Regions from separate parts of the Homo sapiens genome. Here region 1 is linked to region 2. The links are contacts of gene promoters, found by promoter capture Hi-C in blood cells and fetal thymus (Javierre and others, 2016). All regions are on one chromosome and are shown on one strand. Each heading gives the region's core, a stretch centred on a gene start or on the middle of the fragment in contact. The rest is flanking DNA. Distances are from core to core; before and after follow the strand shown.

Region 1 (6,482 bases), core at 2,187-4,686, 120 kb after region 2:
CACAGTTTTTCCACCAATTATATTATTCATTTCTAAAATTTTCTTGGTTCTTTTTATAATCAAGTTGTTTTTTGCTTGCTTAATTTTTTTACTCCTTTTCTTTTCTTTTCTTTCTTTTTTTTTTTTTTTTTTTTGAGATGGAGTTTTGCTGTTGTTGCCCAGGCTGGAGTACAATGGTGCAATCTCGGCTCACCGCAACTGCCACCTCCCGGGGTCAAGCAATTCTCCTGCCTCAGCCTCTGGAGTAGCTGGGATTACAGGCGGCCGCCACCACGCCTGGCTAATTTTTGTATTTTTAGTAGAGATGGGGTTTCTCCATGTTGATCAGGCTGGTCTCGAATTCCCGACCTCAGGTGATCCGCCTGCCTCGGCCTCCCAAAGTGCTGGATCACAGGTGTGAGCCACCGCACCTGGCTTACTCCTTTTCAAATTTTTAAAACATTGTGTGCACAGCTGTTTTGTATTCCATATGTGATATTTCAAATATCTGAAGTTCTTAGAGATCTAAATCTGTTGTTATTTCTTATGACTTGTACATATGGTGGTTTCTTTGCTTGTATTATAAATGGATATTTGATTGATATTAATCTGTGAAAATCTAGGCCTAACCTAAGGATACTTTCTCTTTTTTCTATTGGTGTGCACCACCACACTGGGGGAAGTATTTTTTATTTTATTTAATTTTTTTAGAGACGAGGTCTCACTATATTGCCCACACTGAACTCCTGGTCTCAGGTGGTCCTTCGACCTCAGCCTCCCAAATAGCTTTCTTTGCAATCTCACTAACATCTATTGCTTTTTTTTTTTTTTTTTTTTGAGATGGAGTCTTGCTCTGTTTCCAGGCTGGAGTGCAGTGGTGCGATCTCGGCTCACTGCAACCTCTGCCTCTTGGGTTCAAGCGATTCTTCTACCTCAGCCTCCCAAGTAACTGGGATTACAGGCTCCTGCCATCATGCCTGACTAATTTTTGTATTTTTAGTAGAGACAGGGTTTTGCCATGTTGGCCAGGCTGGTCTCGAACTCCTGACCTTAGGTGATCTGCCCACCTTGGCCTCCTAAAGTGCTGGGATTACATGCATGAGGCACTGCACCCGGCCTGTTTTTTGATTATTTAATAGCCATTCTGACTGGTGTGAGATGGCATTTCGTTGTGGTTTGGATTTGCATCTCTCTGATGATGAGCGATGTTGAGCATTTTTTTGTATGTGTGTTGGCCACATACATGTCTTTTGAGAAGTATCTGTTTATGTCTTGCCCACTTTTTAATGGGATTATTTTTTTCTTAAGTTCCTTATAGATTCTGGATATTAGTGTGTCAAGGATGCCTTTTTTTTTTTTTTCTTGAGACAGAGTTTCGCTTTTGTTGCCCAGGCTGGAGTGCAATGGCGTGATCTCGGCTCACTGCAACCTCCGCCTCCTGGGTTCAAGTGATTCTCCTGCTTCAGCCTCCCGAGTAGCTGGGGTTACAGGATCCTGCCACCATGCCTAGCTAATTTTTGTATTTTTAGTAGAGACAGGGTTTCTCCATGTTGGCCAAGCTGGTCTCGAACTCTGGACCTCAGGTGATCCACTCGCCTCAGCCTCCTAAAGTGCAAGCCACCGTGGCTGGCGCCTTTTTTTTTTTTTTTTTTTTTTTGAAACGGAGTTTTGCTCTTTCGCCCATGCTGGAATGCAGTGGAAATCTCGGCTCGGAAATCACTGCAACCTCAAGTGATTCTCCTGCCTCAGCCTCCTGAGTAGCTGGGATTACAGGTGCCCGCCACCATGCCACGCCTGGCTAATTTTTGTATTTTTAGTAGAGACAGTGTTTCACCATGTTGGCCAGGCTGGTCTTGAACTCCTGACCACAGGTGATCCGCCCGCCTCGGCTTCCCAAAGTGCTGAGATTACAGGCGTGAGGCACCGCGCCCGGCCAAGGATGCTTTTTCTTGAGAGTGCAGCCTTCCACTGAGTGACAGTGCCTGTCTCTGGGGTGACTAGCTGTTTCAGGATCCCTGGCATTACTTAAAAATCTCAGGCTCTGCTTTCCTCTTGCCTACCTTTCTGCTGGTCCAAGGGCTCAGTGTCCCCACTGGAGTGTTTTTTTATTTGTTTGTTTTTAAGCTGGAGTCTCGCTCTGTTGCCCAGGCTGGAGGGCAGTGGCATGATCTCGGCCCACTGCAACCACCACCTTCCAAGTTCAAGCGATTCTCCCGCCTCAGCCTCCTGAGTAGCTGGGATTACAGGCATGTGCCACCACACCCGGCTAATTTTTGTATTTTTAGTAGAGACGGGGTATCGCCATGTTGGCCAGGCTAGTCTCAAACTCCTGACCTCAGGTGATCCACCTGCCTTGATCTCCCAAAATGCTGGGATTACAGGTGTGAGCCACCGCACCTGGCCCACTGAAGTGTTAAAATGACCCTTTGCTCTCAGTTTAACACTCCTACCCATCTTTCTGCTCTCTGGTTTTAGCCTACAGCTATATTGGTTTGTCCTTTTAAAGATTTCCCCGACTTCCTTGTGAGACATGGAATAAAAACTATGACTTATGTGAGATCTCGTTGTTGGAGCAGAAGGGCCCTCCAGGGCATCTAATCAGCTACACTTGTGAAAACAGGAATTGGAGCTTTACTTCACCTGTTTCCCCTCTCTTAATGGAAGAGTCACACACCCTTCTTTAAGTGTTCTTGTTATTAGGGTAATGTTTTTGTTTTCCTTTTTTAAATACAAAATTATGGGCCGAGCACAGTGGCTCACGCCTGTAATCCCAGCACTTTGGGAGGCCAAGGCAGGTGGATCACCTGAGGTCGGGAGTTCGAGACCAGCCTGACCAACATGGAGAAACCCTGTCTCTACTAAAAATAAAAAAATTAGCCTGGTATGGTGACATGCGCCTGTAATCCCAGCTGCTTGGGAGGCTGAGGCAGGAGAATTGCTTGAACCTGGGAGGTGGAGGTTGTGGTGAGCCAAGATCACGCCATTGTACTCCAGCCTGGGCAGTAAGAGCGAAACTCTGTTACAAAACAAAACAGAATTATGAACTTAAATATTTGCTTTTTTTTTCATCGCATACACCCCCAGGAAGTTCTGATATTCTTGAGGGTTGGGGTTGTATGCCTCTCCCTAAGAATCACTGCTTTAAGGATGGCGCTCTGTTATTTAAAAAATATACCAAACCCTACAACTATAATCTCTGTCCTTGAATTAGTTTGTCTGAAAAGCAAACATCTATCATTAACTTAAACTTTGGAGAATTATAGCTATTCCACACTAGACAGCCACCTGAAACAGCACCTACTTAGTCTACTAGTAACAGCTATAGATGAAGACATTCAGGGACAAAATACAAAGGTAACTTTACCGAGCTTTCCAGCTGAAATCTGGATTCCGTTCTCCACAGGATGAAGTGCTGGTTTACTGAAAGGTGCCGTCTGATGTAATGTGTGGACAAAAACCACCCACTGCATCTCTGGAAGGCTCCGTTGTTTGCAGCCTTTCAGATAGTTTTCTGGGTGAAAAAAAAAAGCACTGTATCGTGGGTGTTAGGCATTTTGGATTCATTTCCTAGCTTTGCATGTGATTCATTTTTTAGACCTTGGGGAAATAATATTGGTTGTAATCCAAATCACTTGAAAGTAATTTAAACCCCACCTCTCTCACACTACCACCAAAACATCCACATTTCTTTCCCTTTCTTATTATATAACCCACCTTAGATATATGAGTTTTAGATCCAAAGGAGTGACTTTGTAGGCATATAATTTGTAACTGATTAATTGAATTAGTTCATATTTGTTAATTATAATTGCATTTGAAGGTTTTGAAAATGTAGTCAACAGAAATATCTTCCTCTTCTGAAAATTTAGGTGTGTTTTGTAGCCAGGTAAACTTGGTTTGAAGCCTTCCTCTATCGAGAGAGGTTGGAAAAATTTATTCAGAACCCTCGTTTTTGTTTGTTTGTTTTGTTTTGTTCTTTTTTTTGTTTTTTAAATCTACAGCTTTACTTACTAGATCTAGTGTTTTAAGAATTCCTGTGTTTGTTTACCATGAAGAAAAAATGAATAACCAATTGGTTGGGTTGTTATTTTTAATTCAATCTGATTTCTAAGCATCAGATATGAAGTTTTCACTCTGACCATACTTGGTCTAGCTGATAAGTCCACTGGTGATAAAGAATGAGCTTAGAACCTTTGCTGTGAATCACTAAAGCAGTAGCTGAGTAAAGAAAAATTCTCAATCTTTTATTTGCCAGACACTGTTTTAGACCTTGGGGTAACGTCAGTGAAATAGCTTAGGTTTTGACTACTTCATAGGAAAAGATGAAATCTATGGACTCCTCCAAAAAGTGCTTTTATGCATGATATGGTTTGGCTCTGTGTCCCCACCCAAATCTTGTAGCTCCCATAATTTCCTCATGTTGTGGGAGGGACCCAGTGGGAGATAATTGAATCATGGGGTGGGTCTTTCCCATGCTGTTCTTGTGATCGTTAGTAAGTCTCTTGAGATCTGATCGGTTTAAAAAGGGGAGTTTTCCTGCACAAGCTCTCTTCTCTTGTCTGTCGCCATATGAGACATGCCTTTTACCTTCTGCCGTGATTGTGAGGCCTCCCCAACCACGTGGAACTGTTTAAGTCTAATAAACCTCTTTCTTTTGTAAATTGCCCAGTCTCGGGTATGTCTTTATCAGCAGCATGAAAATAGATTAAAAGAGTAAACTGGTACCAGTAGAGTGGGGCGCTACTGAAAATACCTGAAAATGTGGAAGAGACTTTGGAACTGGGTAATAGGCAGAGGTTGGAACAGTTTGGAGGGCTCAGAAGAAGACAAGAAAATGTGGGAAAGTTTGGAACTCGGTAGAGACTTGTTGAATGGTTTTTACCAAAATGCTGATATTGATATGGATAATGAAGTCCAGGCTGGGGTGGTCTCAGATGGAGATTAGGAACTTGTTGGGAACTGGAGTAAAGGTGACTCTTGGTATATTTTAGCTAAGAGTCTGGTGGCATTTTGCCCCTGCCCTAGAGATTTGTGCAACTTTGAACTTGAGAGAGGTGATTTAGGGTATCTAGCGGAAGAAATTTCTAAGCAGGAAAACATTCAAGAGTTGACTTGGGTGCTGTTAAAGGCATTCAGTTTTATAAGAGAAGCAGAGCATAAAAGTTCAGAAAATTTGCAGCTGGACAATGTGATATTAAAGAAAATCTTGTTTTCCGAAGAGAAATTCAAGCTGGCTGCAGAAATTTGCATAAGTAACAAGGAGCCAAATGTTAATCCCCAAGACAATGGGGAAAATGTCTTCAGGGCATGTCAGAGGTCTTCACAGCCACCCCTCCCATCACAGGCCTGGAGGCCTAGGAGGAAAAAGTGGTTTCATGGGCCGGGCCCAGGGTCCCTGTGCTGTATGCTGCCTATAGACTTGGTGCCCTGCCTTCCAGCCACTCTAGCCATGGCTGAAAGGGGCCAGCATAGAGCTGAGGCCATGGCTTCAGAGGGTGCAAGCCCCAAGCCTTGCAGCTTCCACGTGGTGTTGAGCCTGCGAGTGCACAGAAGGTCAAGAATTGAGGTTTGGGAACCTTCACCTAGATTTCAGAGGATGTATGAAAATGCCTGGATGTCCAGGCAGAAGTTTGCTGCAGGGGTGGGGCTCTCATAGAGATCATCTGCTAGGGCAGTGCAGAAGGGAAATGTGGGGTCAGATCCCCTACACAGAGTCCCTACTGGGGTACTGCCTAGTGGAGCTGTGAGAAGAGGGCCACCATCCTCCAGACCCCAGAATGATAGATCCACTGACAGCTTGCACTGTGCACCTGGAAAAGCCACAGACACTGAACACCAGCCCGTGAGAGCAGCGGGGAGCAAGGCTGTATCCTGCAAAAACCACAGGTGGGTAGCTGCCCAAGACCATGGGAACCCACCTCTTTTATCAGTGTGACCTGGATATGAGACTTGGAGTCAAAGGAGATCATTTTGGAGCTTTAAGATTTGACTGCCTTGTTGGATTTCAGACTTGCATGGGGCCTATCGCCCCTTTGTCTTGGCCAATTTCTCCCAATCATTTTGGAGCTTTAAGACTTGACTGCCTTGTTGGATTTCGGACTTGCATGGGGCCTATAGCCCCTTTGTCTTGGCCAATTTCTCCCATTTGGAATGGCTTTATTTACCTAATGCCTATACCACATTGTATCTGGGAAGTAACTAACTTGCTTTTGATTTTACAGGTTCATAGGCAGAAGGGACTTGCTTTGTCTCAGATGAGACTTTGGACTGTGGACTTTTGAGTTAATGCTGAAATGAGCTAAACTTTTGGGGGACTGTTGGGAAGGTATGATTGGTTTTGAAATGTGAGGACATGAGATTTGGGAGGGGCCAGGGGTGGAATGATATGGTTTGGCTCTGTGTTCCCACCCAAATCTCATCTTGTAGCTCCCATAATTTCCTTGTAATGTGGGGGGGAACCGATGGGAGATAATGGAATCATGGGGTGGGTCTTTCTTGTGCTG
Region 2 (6,673 bases), core at 480-2,979:
CCCCGTTCCGTAAGCTTCCGCCATCACCCTTGCCTCAGTGTTCCCACCTGACAAATGAAGAGTTTTAAAACCGTCCGGACCAACATGTCAGTTAACAAAATCACCCTTCGCTTCGCCCTCTGCTCGTTCTGTTTTCAGACACCACCACCCCCCTCAGAAGCAGAGGCGACATATTCATTCCATTCCGGAAAGTTTCCTGAAGCACGCCCCCCTGCACAGACGAGTGACGAGGGGACCCCGTGAGAGGCGCCTCCAGCCCACCCGGCGCCCCATGCCGCTGGGAGAGGGTTCTCTGTCGGCGAGTCCTGCCTGCTGACTCCCACCCACAGCGGGTTCTCTCCCGCCGCCATCTCCTCCGGCTTGGTGAACTTGCCCGCAGCCGGGTCGTGTCTGCGCGCTGACAGCCCTGAGCTCACAGTCCTGGCACCCTCCAGGCTCCGCTCCCACTTCCATACAAGGGCCGAGAGCCGGGGGTGCCACCCAGAGGCTTGTAGGTCGCTCTGCCCATCTCCAAAGCAAAAGCCCGCGCGCTCACGCACGCATCACCCAACTCGGTGGCTCCCCCCTTGCGTCTCCCCCAGCTCAGACCCAGGAAAGCGGAAAGAGAAAATCCCCCCTCCGCTCGGATTCACAGCGTGGGGACCCCCCCTTCCCCGCCCCTCCCCTCCCCCGCCGCCGCCCCCAGCCAGCTCTGCCTCGCAGCCTGGGGAGGGCGGCGTGGGGCCCGCGCGGCTGCGGCGCGCTCCCGGGGAACTTTTGCCTGGCCGGGGCCCAGGTGCGGCTGAGAGGCGCGGGGGCCGGCGGGGTCCAGCCAAAAGCGGACACACCTCGAAGCTGGCCTCATCAATCCTCCTCTCACCGGGCGCCCCTGCTAGGGGGATCCGACCTCCAGCTGCCAAGATGTGTGGGCAGGAGGGGCGCGAGCGGAGCGATGGACGCCCGCAGGGCCGCGCGAACCCGGGGCCTTAGACGCGGGTGCCGCCAGTCCCAGGGATCCTCCGGGTCGCGCCTCCCTGCAGGCGCTCCTCGCGGCGCGGGGCTCTAGCGTGCTGCAGCCTGCCCGGAGACCGCAAACTCCCGCAGCCAGAGTTTCCCGCAGCTCTGGGAGGCGGCCGCCGGGCAGGAGGCGACGGGCTAGGCGCGCCGGTGTGCACCGTGGGGCCCGTGGTGGGCGAAGTCGACCCAGGTTCCACTGCGTCCTTTCCCCGAGTGCCCGGCAGCCCGTGGGCTCTGGCCCCTTCCCGCCCGCCCCTCCAGCCCACGGCCCCCAGGCCCTCCCCGGCAATGCTCCCGGGCCGCCTGGCCCGCGTCGGAGCCCAAGCCTCACCCGCGGGAAGGCGCGCCGGGGAGCTGGGGAACCGGGGGGCCAAGGAGCCGGGAAACCGAGGGGCCGGGCGCGAGGGGCCGAGGGCGCCGGGAGGGGCAGGGGAGGGACGCCGCACTTCAACTCACCTTCAGCCGCAAGCCCTCGGGTGCCGATCACACTTGCTATGAAAGTGGCCACATACCAAATCATAGTACTACCGCGCCAGCCCGGAGCCTCATCCTATCGCAAAGTGCTCCCGCGCCCGCACGCGCCTCGCGCCCGAGCGCCCGCCTCGCGCCCGCCTCGCGCCGCCTACGCCCCGCGCCGGTGCTCCTGCAGCCCGGGTGGCCAGCTCTCCATCCCTCCTAGGCTCCGCTCGGCTCGGCGCGCGCCTCCCCGGCCCCGGCGCAGCGGCACCTGCACTACTCGCCCGGGCGGAGCGCAGCCAGGTCCACGGTGAAGCCTAGCCGGGCCGGGCCTCCGGAACCGCCCCCGCCGCCCGCCTATTGGGCGCCGCCCGCAAGCCGGGGGTCCGATTGGCTCAGCCTTCCGCCCGTCGCGGCGCGAAGGAGGCGAGCCCATTTCAAGGTGCGTTGAAGTGTGGCGAGCACAGAGCCGCAGAATCATGCGCATTGCCGGGGAGAAGGTGGTATAGCGTCTCTGCCCGCTTCTCTCTCGGCTCACACTGCGTGGCAAGTTTCTGGTGAGGGAAATGGTAGCTTCTAACGGGACCCTGGCGGGTCTCAATTACCCCGGACAGGTCTGAGGGAAGTGGAGCCCCCGCCCACTCATGGAACCCAACATCCGGTTTCCATCCGGCAAAAAGCAGTTCCCGAGAGGACCATGCTGATTCTATGATGGGGAAACCCAGGAGCCGGCGGCCCGGGAGAGCCGGGGAACGTCCTTCGCCGGAGATCTTTTCAAAGAGGTCACGCGCCGCCTCCCCACCCCGTCTCCCTCCGCACCCAGACACGTCCCCAGAGCAGCGCACCACCCCCTCCAAACGTGATGCAGACCGGGGGATGACTAAAATGACCTCTCAAAGTCGCTAAGATTTAGAGTGAGTCATTGGCTCAGCTGCGAAGTGCCACAGACCCCTCAGGAACACTCGTGCACACACACTCCACCCCCAGTGCTGGTCACTGCTGCTCATCATTACTGAATCCCGACTCCAAGCAGTCAAAGTTGGGTCTTTTTCCCACTTCTCCTGATAAAGGCTGCTTCCTCACGCACATGGTTCCTCCCCTCTCCACCTTACTCGGAGCCCAGCCCCGACTCGGCCGCATGAAACCAAGATGGGTTTGGGGGAAGCTTTAGGAGTCTGGGATGGAGGAGACCCAGGGAAAGGGAAGGAGCTTCTCATCCTACAGAGGAATGTAAATAGGAAACTGGAAGGTCTTCGTATGTTCCAGTCTCCCTACCCTAGCCTGTCTGCTTCCCCTCCCCCAATACAGTTGTATTTGCAGAAGAAATAAATGAGTGTCATGGAAACATCTACTACAAACAATCACCTCACACCAGCGCTCAGAGGCTGCAGTGAAGATGTTTGTTCTTTCAAGGAGTGAAGGCAGTGGTAAGAATCACACCGCTCCCTGGGATGGGCTGTTGGCCAAGGAAGGAAGGCAGAGGGTCAGCGAGCGAGAGCTCAGGAATTTCATCCTCTCAAAGCACTCGTTAGCCACAAAGCCCTGGCTCCAGGACATGAAGCTCCCAAAACAACAAGAAGGAGACTTGCTTCTGGGAAAGCGTGCACACAGGTACACACACATGCACAAAAAGTGGCCTTGAACACCGGAGGTGGAGCATTCCCTGACACCGGAAGCCTCTTAGCTCACCGCCAGCTGGGAGGCAGAAAGAGGCCCCCAACAGAGCAGTCAGTGAGCACATGGATAAAGGTCGAGGGCCTGGATAGATCCAGAGAACCAGGACTGTTGAATAACCTTCTACCCTACCCACCCCTCCACCTGTGCAAACACACTCAAGATGCATAACTTGGGGCCATCTCTCCCTGAGCCATGATTTTGGTTCTCTTCTTGGGCAAAGATGCCTTTCTGGGGACAATGAAGTGAGCTGCTCCAGGTCTCATTGATGCAGTGATCTCCAGGTCTCATTGATGCAGTGATTTCCAGGTGGCATGACCCAGAATAACTCCACCCCCAACACACACACACACATATACATACACACACACTTACACACTTTCCCAGGGCCCCGGGACTGTAAAGACATATTGGAATCCATTTGCAGAATTGGTCATAACAGGATCCTTCTCCTCCCACAACCTCTAAGCAGCTAACTGTGGCCTAGAGAAAAGTGCCGGATCCACAAAGCCTGGCCCTAGTTCCTCACCATTGTTAGGTATGGAGTGGGAAACATCAGGTCTCAGAGAAACCCTCTCCTAGGGGCCTGCAGGGCAAGGAAAAAGATGGAGCCACTCTCACCACCCATCTTGATTGCTTTGTCTGGCCATCCATTTGTCCTACTCAGGGTTCTGCCTCCTGCTAGGAAAGTAGAACTGTCTGTCAGAATGGATGGCGGGCATGGAGGCTCATGCCAGTAGTCTCAGCTCCTCAGGAGGCTGAAGCAGGAGTATTGCCTGAGCACAGGAGTTCTAGGCTCAGTGATCATGCCACTGCACTCCAGCCTGGGTGACAGAATGAGACCCTGTTAAAAAACAAACAAAAACAACAACAAAAGTGTCTGTCAAATTGGAAAGAAAAAAACACGTAACAAGCTTTAGAACATGAGTTGGGTTGGGAAGGGGTTCGAAGGATCTATCTAAAGAGGAGAACAAATTTCTTCTGGATAATTCTACTGGAAACAGAGTGGAACAAGGGATGAAGGCAGAGAGGAAGGGGAAGAAAATTAAGATACAAAGGGAAAAGTTCGTCATCATCATCATCATTAGACATGTCTCAACTGGGTTTCAGATCAGCTAAAGAGAGATATACTGTATCAGCTTACAGTGAGGAGTGAGTCTGATCAAATCTTTTCCTCTTGGCGTATGGCTGAGCTTTGGACCCAGAAAGGATGGTTGCCCCTTCCTAGAATAGACACATCCAGTTGAGTGTTCAAGGGGAGCATGGACCCCAGATGTCCAAAAGGGACATGAGGGAGGAACATGAGCCACTTCCCTGCGCAGCTCCTAGGTGTACCTGAATGTCATCGATGTCACTAATAAATGCAGTAATATATCCAGGAATGCTATGTATATCAGATACGGGAGTGTCTGTCATCTTCTTTTAAGAGGTACTGACTTTTTGGAAATACAAAACAATAGTCTTATCAGTGTGTCTATGAAAAAAAACCAAATGTAGCCACCTACCTGCACATCCCAGAGGCCTTTGGAGGACATGTGAGAAAGGGGGCTGACAGGAGCTTCAAGTGTAGGAGAAGAGGAAACTATCCTCCTTCCCTCCTCATAGTCATCGAACAAGGAGGACTCAAAAACAATAGTTCACTTGTCTGTCACTTCTCACCTTCCTCAGTGGTTCCAGCCCTCATTGCAGAATCTAGGGTAGAACAATTGTTGGGACAGCTGCTTGTGAAAAGGAGAGGCAGTTCTAAATAAAAGCAGTTTACTCAACACAAACACCAAAGAGCGTGTTTAGTGTTTACATAAATAGGGAACTGTATCAGTTGTCTTACCGTGTAAAAACCCAGCCCAAAATATCATGGCTTAAAGCAAGAAGGCTCATTCATTTGCTCTTGAATCCGCAATTTGGACACTGGCTGGTGAGGACAGCTCTTCTCTACTTCATGTGGCATCAGCTCCACTGGGGTGTGGACCTTTCTCCTTTCAGGATGGCTTACTCACGTGGCTAGCAGGTTGACGCTGGCTGTTAGCCTGGGCTGCCAGCAAAGGGCTGTGATTCTTCCTCAAGTGGGCCTCTCTGCAGGCTGCCTGGGCTTCCTCAAAGCATGGTGGTTCCAAAAGCTGGCATCCCAGTAGAACCAGGTGAAAGGCATATGACCCTTCATATCCCAGCCTTGGAAGACACCTAGCATCACTTCCATCAGGGTCAAAAACCTGCCCCAATTCAAAGGGAGAGGACACAGTTCCCCACCTCTCAATAGAACAGTGGCCCTGTCACTTTTTTTTTTTTTTAGACGGAATCTTACTCTGTCACCCAGGCTGGAGTGCAGTAGCGCAATCTCAGCTCACTGCAACCTCCGCCTCCCAGGTTCAAGTGATTCTTCTGCCTCAGCCTCCCAAGTAGCTGGGCCTACAGGCACATGCCACCACATCCGGCTAATTTTTGTATTTTTAGTAGAGACAGGGTTTCACCATATTGGCTAGGCTGGTCTCGAACTCCTGACCTGGTGATCCACCCACCTTGGCCTCCCAAAGTGCTAGGATTACAGGCGTGAGCCACCGCACCCGGCCCCTGTCACATTTTAAGAAGAACTTACGGGATGGGAGAGAGTGTTGCAGCCATTTCTGGATGATACAATTTGCAATGAAAACAGTCTTCAAAATTGAAGGAAAAAAATGACTGCTAGAAGAAATATCTAGAAAGAAAGGTATATATTAGAGTTCTCCAGAAAAAATAGAACTAATAGGATTGATATAGACATCAATATTGATACCAATATACATATAGAGATATAACGGGAGGTATTATAGAAATTAGCACATGCAATTCTGGAGCCTGAGAAGTCCAATGCTATGCCATCTGAATGCTGAAGAACCAGAGAAGCTGGTGGTATAATTCAGTCTGTGTCTAAAGACCTGAGAACCTAGAGTTCTGATGTCCAAGGGACAGGAGAAGCTACCCCAGCTCCAGAAGAGAGCAATTTGCCCACCCTCAGCCTTTGTTGCTCTATATGGAGCTTTGATGGAGGGTAGGATGATGGCTGCCCACGCTAGTGAGGACAGACCATCCTCACTCAGCCTCCCAATTCTGTCGCCAACCTCTTCCAGAAGCACCCTCACAGACACACCCAGAAAGAAAGTTTTGTGAGGTATCTGGGCAGCCCTTACCCTAGTCGACATCTAAAATTGACCAACACAAAAGGGCTTGGCATATAGTATCCGATCTCAGAGTTTTCTCCCTTTGAGTCAAGCTACCACTACCAGTCCCAGGTGTCAGGGATGTACGCTTGATCCTTACAGAAGACTAGCCTGTTTGTGAAGCAGATCCTTTCACCTTGCTTTCTCTTAATACACCAGAGACCAGTCAGCATATTTTAAAAGAACTTGGAGGAGAGAGGAAAATAAATAAAATTGCATTTCTGAAACATAAATATATAATCTTAAGATCTGACGCAGAAGTGGAGAAAAGCTTTGCAAGGGTCTCAAGCCCTCTCACCGTAAGAATTGTTCATCTAGGCTCAAAATCCTCCCACAACGTTGCAAGCACCTCA

What was found. Contacts are between HindIII fragments. The CHiCAGO score rates a contact against its expected background, and 5 or more counts as called.
Region 1: a contact is called between a fragment that was not itself captured here and the fragment with the promoter of IGSF9B in region 2, in 7 of 17 cell types (total CD4 T cells, naive CD4 T cells, non-activated CD4 T cells and 4 more). The highest score is 10.9, in total CD4 T cells.

Annotation. Positions count from the first base shown.
Region 1 is chr11:134,076,038-134,082,519 of GRCh38, forward strand. All of the region lies in intron 1 of JAM3 (junctional adhesion molecule 3), which reads left to right. Among named protein-coding and RNA genes, the nearest start is that of JAM3, 10 kb to the left of the region's middle. The HindIII fragment of the contact is 9,046 bases long and covers 1-6,482 here.
Region 2 is chr11:133,955,239-133,961,911 of GRCh38, forward strand. IGSF9B (immunoglobulin superfamily member 9B) reads right to left here and starts at 1,730. Exons shown (of 20, transcript NM_001277285.4): 1 at 1,453-1,730. The coding sequence starts at 1,516. RefSeq lists a silencer at 1,559-1,908. The HindIII fragment of the contact is 2,603 bases long and covers 13-2,615 here.